Linked DNA regions of Homo sapiens: region 1 is linked to region 2. The links are contacts of gene promoters, found by promoter capture Hi-C in human tissues and cell types (Jung and others, 2019). All regions are on one chromosome and are shown on one strand. Each heading gives the region's core, a stretch centred on a gene start or on the middle of the fragment in contact. The rest is flanking DNA. Distances are from core to core; before and after follow the strand shown. Region 1 holds the start of GCGR (glucagon receptor). Region 2 holds the start of LRRC45 (leucine rich repeat containing 45).

Evidence for each region. Contacts are between HindIII fragments. The study calls those that stand out against the background at their distance.
Region 1: the fragment with the promoter of GCGR here is called in contact with the fragment with the promoter of LRRC45 in region 2 in 1 of the 25 tissues and cell types used here (mesendoderm cells).

The regions. Positions count from the first base shown.
Region 1 is chr17:81,802,409-81,805,399 of GRCh38, forward strand. GCGR (glucagon receptor) reads left to right here and starts at 1,742. Exons shown (of 14, transcript NM_000160.5): 1 at 1,742-1,841. It overlaps LOC105376789 (a long non-coding RNA gene), which reads right to left and starts at 2,337. Exons shown (of 4, transcript XR_001753046.3): 1 at 2,250-2,337. RefSeq lists an enhancer at 1,211-1,710. The HindIII fragment of the contact is 39,466 bases long and covers 1-2,991 here.
Region 2 is chr17:82,021,999-82,024,978 of GRCh38, forward strand. LRRC45 (leucine rich repeat containing 45) reads left to right here and starts at 1,307. Exons shown (of 17, transcript NM_144999.4): 1 at 1,307-1,865; 2 at 2,280-2,341; 3 at 2,695-2,765. The coding sequence starts at 1,646. It overlaps CENPX (centromere protein X), which reads right to left and starts at 880. Exons shown (of 5, transcript NM_001271006.2): 1 at 828-880. The coding sequence starts at 863. RefSeq lists a silencer at 571-1,620 and an enhancer at 1,357-2,280. The HindIII fragment of the contact is 20,224 bases long and covers 1-2,980 here.

The sequences.
Region 1 (2,991 bases), core at 492-2,991, 220 kb before region 2:
GGTGGGGGCAGGAGCTGAGGGAGGGTTTGGGTGGAGAGGGGAGAAGATGCAGTAGCAGGAGCAGATGCTGGCAGGTAGAGACAAACTTTTATGACCTTTGCCTTCTGACCTTTGCCTCTGGCCACTGCTCCAACTAAAACAGAATGGCCCCCTCTGGGAACAGGGCTTCCTATGGGCTGGGAAGCATGGAGCCCCCACAGTGTGGCTATGCAGGGGAGTGAGGACCAGGTGGGGGCAGGCCTGTGGGGGTCACAGAGCTGGGCTAAGCTTCAGAGGGAAGTGGCCCCTGGGAGGGGGAATGGCTGGGGTTAAGACCCTGGGTTCCCACGCCCCCAAAACAGAAGTAGAATTAGGGAGAAAGGACCCCCAAGACCAAGGACGGCACCTATCAGAGGAGCTCTCCACGGGCAGGAGGTGTCCCAGGGTGAGGGTGGCCAGGACAGGTCTAGGGAAATGCAGGTGGAGCAGGACCCAGAGATGGATTGGAGATGCCGGAGGGGAGGCTTCCTAGCGGGAGCGGAGACAGGCACTGCAGACAAGTGTCAGCGGGAGGGGCTCTGGGTGGGGAAGAAGACTGGGACTTGGAGGAAGACCTCTCCAGGGAGAAGGGAGGAGGGGGAAGGAGAAGGGGAGGAAGTGGGAGGAGGAGAGTGCTCATCCTGGAAGCCACAGCCTCGGAGAGAACTTTCTAGAAGGAAGGCATGACCATCAGTGTCCCAGGATGCTGAGAGGCCAGGAAAGGTGAGGCCTCAAGGCGCCATGGGGTTGTGGTGACCCCAAGATCACTGGGCACAGAGCAGGGATGGCTGGGGGTGGAAGGGGAGGGGCGCGGGCTGAGGTTCTAGGGCCCCAAAGCCAGGTGTGATGTGGCTCTAGGGGGAGTGAGGAAGGGGAGAATGTCCCTCTGAGCGTGCCTCTTGGGGAAGGCAGGGGTTCTGGCTGGGGCTTCTCCACTCCCAGGAAAGGAGGTGGTGTGGAAGGAGCGGGTGGGACGGAGGAGAGAGCGCCCCGCGGCCGCAGGACCAGCAGGTGGGGGACCAGGGTCAGCGCTGCTGGAGGGGCCTTAGCGCGACAGGACTGGCCAGAGACCGGGGATGTGGCACAGAAAGAGTTAAAGGGCACCCCAGGGACCGCCCTGCCGGTCCACCCATGTCACCCATGTTGGCCCCTACTCCAGCCCCCGTCTGCTCTGCAGGGGAAGGAACCGGGAGCCGCGGTGGGGGCGACTGGGGGTGTCGGTCTTTCCAGAAAATCAGGCAGGCATCAGGAAAGAAGGGGCGAGAACCCGGGGACGCGAGAGGAAGGGGGCGAGGGGGCGCCCAGGGAGGCGGAGGGAGCGAGAGGAAGGGGGGCTGAGCCACGGCCCCCACGCCCGCGCGCCCCTCCGCGTCCCAGGGCGTCCCCTCCCGGAGCTGGGACCCACCGCGACCACCACCTGCTGGGCCAGGGTCCGCGGGCTCAGGGGTCTGCAGGATTAGGGTCTGCGGAACCAGGACCCGTGGGACAAAGGTCTGTGGGGCGCGGGTCCGCGGGGTGGAATTCAGCGCGCCGAGTCTGCGTATGGCCGGGGTACGAGGCGCTCCCTGCGCAGGGTGGGCAGGACCGAAGCTCGCCGGGAGGCTGCGCGGAGGGCGGGCGGGGACCCTCGGCTGCCGCTCCCACCCCCGCGGGGCCGCCCCCGAGCCCGCCCTCCGCCGCCGCCCTCGCCCTGCGTCGCCGCCGGAAAGTTTGCACCGACCCCGATCTGGCAGCGCCGCGAAGACGAGCGGTCACCGGCGCCCGACCCGAGCGCGCCCAGAGGACGGCGGGGAGCCAAGCCGACCCCCGAGCAGCGCCGCGCGGTGAGCACCTGGGCCGCGGCCCCGAGGGGACGTTGGGGAGTCGACCCGGTGGGGACAGAGACCGCGGGGCGGGCGCGGCGGGGCCGGGGGCGCGGGGAGCGGGGAGCCGGCCGGGCGGTCTCCGGGGTCCGGGCTGGTGCGCTCCTCAGTCCCGTCAGACACCCCCGTTCCCAACCCCGGCTCGGACACCACCCGGTCCTGCACCGTCGGGCAGGTCCAGGGGTCTCAGCCCCTCCCCCGTTCTCTGGTCCTGGGGGGCGCGGCTGGGGGCGGGGGTGTCGCTGGCCGCCTGGCGCCCTGCGGCGGCCACACTGCAGCGGCCACACTCCCCACTCAGGGCCCCGGGCCCCGCCGCCCTGGGGAGCGCACAAAGCGCCGCGGACGCGTCCCCGAGGCGCGGGGTCTCACCAGCGCTGTCTCCCCTCGGTGGGCTCCTGCCCCGAGGACTGCCCGGTGGCACCGGCGCGGCCCAGGATGGGGTGAGGGGTGTCTGCGCCCCGCCTGGCCGCTCCTCTTCCGCGGCCCACACTGGCGACTTTGACCCCGGCAAGCGGGTCACTGCCCTGCCCGGCTCCGGCCCCCCCGGCGCCCCACCACCCGGCCGACTCGGCCACCGGGCTTATGCTCCGACTCTGAACCGACTGACCCCGGCCCCCTCGGCGCCCGCATCCTCCAAGGACCGGCCAGGGCTGCTCTCTGCCCTTGGTATTGGGGACATCAGGGTTGGGGGGTCTGGGTGCACCCACGCCTGCCCCGCCCCCACGGGGTGAGGGCGCAGGGATAGGGCTTTGTCAACAGCCTGTGGCCCCTGATCCCGCCCCGGTGCCCTGACCTTCCACTACCTTCTCTGGTTTCACAAAAACATCCCGGCTCCCATCCCGGAGCTCCTCAAAGCGTCTGAGAGGCCCCTTGCGGACGCCCTGGGAGCCCCGCTGCCTTCCTGGACCAGTGGCCGCTCCACCCATCCTGGGGGCCCAGCTCCAGGTCTGCGGGTCCCTCAGCCGCCCCCAGTGGGAATCGGTGGAGCCTGACGCAGCCAGGAGCGCCCAAGAGTCACGTGTTCTGCCAGGGAGGACATGGGACAGGACACGGGGTGCCAGCCCTGCAAAGCGGCCGGGGCAGTGGAGCTCAGGTGGCCCTAAGCCCTGGT
Region 2 (2,980 bases), core at 57-2,556:
ACAAGGGCCTGAGACCCTCCCTTCCCAGGCCACAGAGGCCCACGAGGCCCTGCTGACATCGAGGAAGCTCGGTGCCCCAACCTTCAGGTAGAGCAGTAGAAAGGTTCAGAAACCACTCTGCCTGCACCGATGGGGTCCTCTGCACATGGCACCCCCAGAGAGCTCCACTTCCAGGAACAGGGAAGAGCAGGGCACGCCCTCCAGCCTGGGCGGATCCTGGCTCAGACGGCCTAGGTCTGACCCTAGCCCTGCTGAGTCACTTAACGCCCCCGTGCCTCAGTTTCTCCACTGGCAGGTGGGGTTAATCCCTGTCAAGTGTGTGTAACGTGGAGCACCGAAGAAACCACGCGTTCCTAGCCCAGTGCTGGCGCCCACCGGGGAGCAAACAAAAGGGAAACCACTGTGCCTGGCGGCTGGGGTAGGTCCTGCCGGCTCCTCGGGCTGGACGATCTCACTGTCCCCGTCCTGGGGCCTCATCTCCCCTTAACAAAAGACCCCAGGCTCAGGGCGCAGGGCGGCGGCCCAGCTCCTCCTCTCTCTTCGCCGGCTTGGACTCCGCCGTGACGGCGCCCACCCCTGCCTGTTTCTGCAGACCCTCTCCACCTTCCCGCAGCCCCGGCTGCTCCACGCCCCCTCCTACCAGCTGCGAGACACCAGCCCACGAGGGCGCGGGGCGCGCGGCCCGGCCGGAGATGGAGTCTGAGAACGGGCCCAACCTCAAAGGCACAGGGGGCGGCGCGGGGGCTGGCGTCTGGCCCTCACAGTGTCACGCGTGAGGTCGGGACGGAGCGTCCGCGCCTGCCTAGCCCCTGCCCTCCGGCCCTCACCTTCCGGAAGCCGGATCCAGCTCCTGCTCCCTCCATGACCGCAGCCTCAACGCGCGCCCACCGGAACCCCGCCCCGCGCCTCCAGCCAATGAGACCGGAGCGCGCCCCCGGAGCCCCGCCCCGCGCCCCTAGCCAATGAGTCCGAAGCGCCTGCTCTCGGAGCCCCGCCCCCACGTCTCAGCCAATGAGCCCGGAGCGCGCCCTCCAGCAGCCCCTCCCTCACGTCCCGCAGCCAATGAACTTGGAACGCGCCCTCCCGGGGCACCACCCTCACGACCCTCAGCCAATGAGCCCGGAGCATGCCCTCCCGGGGCCCCACCCTCATGCCCCTAGCCAATGAACCTGGAGCGCGCTGCCCCCTCTCAGCTTGCGGCCCGAAAGGCGCGCCAGTTCCTTTGTTCTCATTGGCCCGCACCAAGCGCTGCCTGCGCAGAGCCTGCTAGGAGTTGTAGTTCCCGCGGCCTCTCCCGGCGCGCCTTGTTCTTCCTGGATACTGAGGCCCCGACGCGGCTGTCGCGAGGGCGGGGGTCGGGGCTGCAGGCGGGGCAGGGCTGGGTGGGGGCGCGCGACGCACCTGCCTGCTTCCTGCACGGGTGGTCCCCAAGCACTGCGGGGCCCCAGCCCAAAGCGGACCTTGACTACCGCCCAGCCCCGCGCTCCCAGGACCTCCCGCCCGCGGAGCCCACTCGGATTGCTCTCCGCCCGGGTCGGCGGAGGCCCCGTCTCCTGTACCCGGCGCTGGGACTGCTCCGCACCGCGCGGCTCCCTTTCAGCAGCTGCGGGAGCATGCGGAGGAGGCCCTGCCGGCCCCGCGGGTCATGGAGGAGTTCCGGCGCTCCTACAGCCGCCTGTGCAGGGAGAGTGGGGCCGAGCCCCAGGAGGCTGTCCTGCAGCAGCTGCACCAGCTTCCCAGGGGCCGGCTGGACCTGGCCACGCAAAGCCTGACGGTGGAGACCTGCAGGGCCCTGGGCAAGCTGCTGCCGAGGGAGACGCTGTGCACGGAGCTGGTCCTGAGTGACTGCATGCTCAGCGAGGAAGGTGGGCAGGCGCGGCGGGGTGGATCCCTCTGCTCCTTAGCTGCCCACACCATTGCCTCGGCAGCCCGAGGTCGCTTCCTCTCCAGGCTCTCCAATTTCTGTGCCGTAGTTAAAGCGAGCAGGGGCGCCCCTTCCTGCACCTGGGAGTAGAGGGCAGTTCCTCTGTATGACGGGGGAGAGGCCTTAACATTCGCGGTCTTACCTGGTTCCCCGCGTGCAGAGCCGGCTTGGTGCCTGGCAGGGGCTGCAGGTGTTTCAAACATGACTTCGCAGCGAGACTCTTGGCCAGCGCCAACCCAGACCATCGGGACAGTTGTCCCTTCCTGGGTCTAGGGAGCTGCCCTGAAAAGGGGCCCACGGGGAGGGCCTTGGGGTCAGCAGGGGCAGAGAGTGACCGCCGGCCCCCCTTACACAGGGGCCACACTGCTGCTCCGAGGCCTGTGTGCCAACACCGTGCTGCGCTTTCTGGACTTAAAGGTGAGATACCTGCACTCTTGAGTGTCCGAGTGTGCCACCCAAGGGCAAGAGGAGAGGTGGAAGATGCCAGGTCTCGGGGGCCTGGGGTCTGGGCAGGTGGCTGGAAGCTGTCTGTGAGTCCCCAGGCCGCTCTCTGATGGCCTCCTGTGTGTGACCATCTCCAGAGCAAGAGTTCACATTGGCAAACAAGCCGGCCCTTGGAAGCCCCCTGAAGACAGGGAGCCCAGGAGCTGAGGAAGGCTGCAGGGTGCACCCCAGGCTTGTCCCCTGGCTGACCAAGGCCCTTGGGGCATGGGCGGGAATTCAGAGCCAGTCAGGGCACGCGAGTGACTACCGGCCTGTTTCTCTCCTAGGGCAACAACCTTCGGGCTGCAGGGGCCGAGGCTCTGGGAAAACTCCTCCAACAGAACAAGTCCATTCAGAGGTGGGTGGTGGTCCCGACCCCAGGCCCTGTCTCTGTGTGGTTGAGGATTGGCCCCGAGCACATGCTTCTGCAGCCCAAGAGTTCCCCATTGCCAGGTGCCCATGTTTCACATACGTTGGCAGGGGTAGGCAGAGGCTCCGGCCCATCAGACCCCAAGCCCACACCCGTCCCCAAGCCCTGGACCCCACGGGCTAGGCAGTCCCCTAGGTGAACAC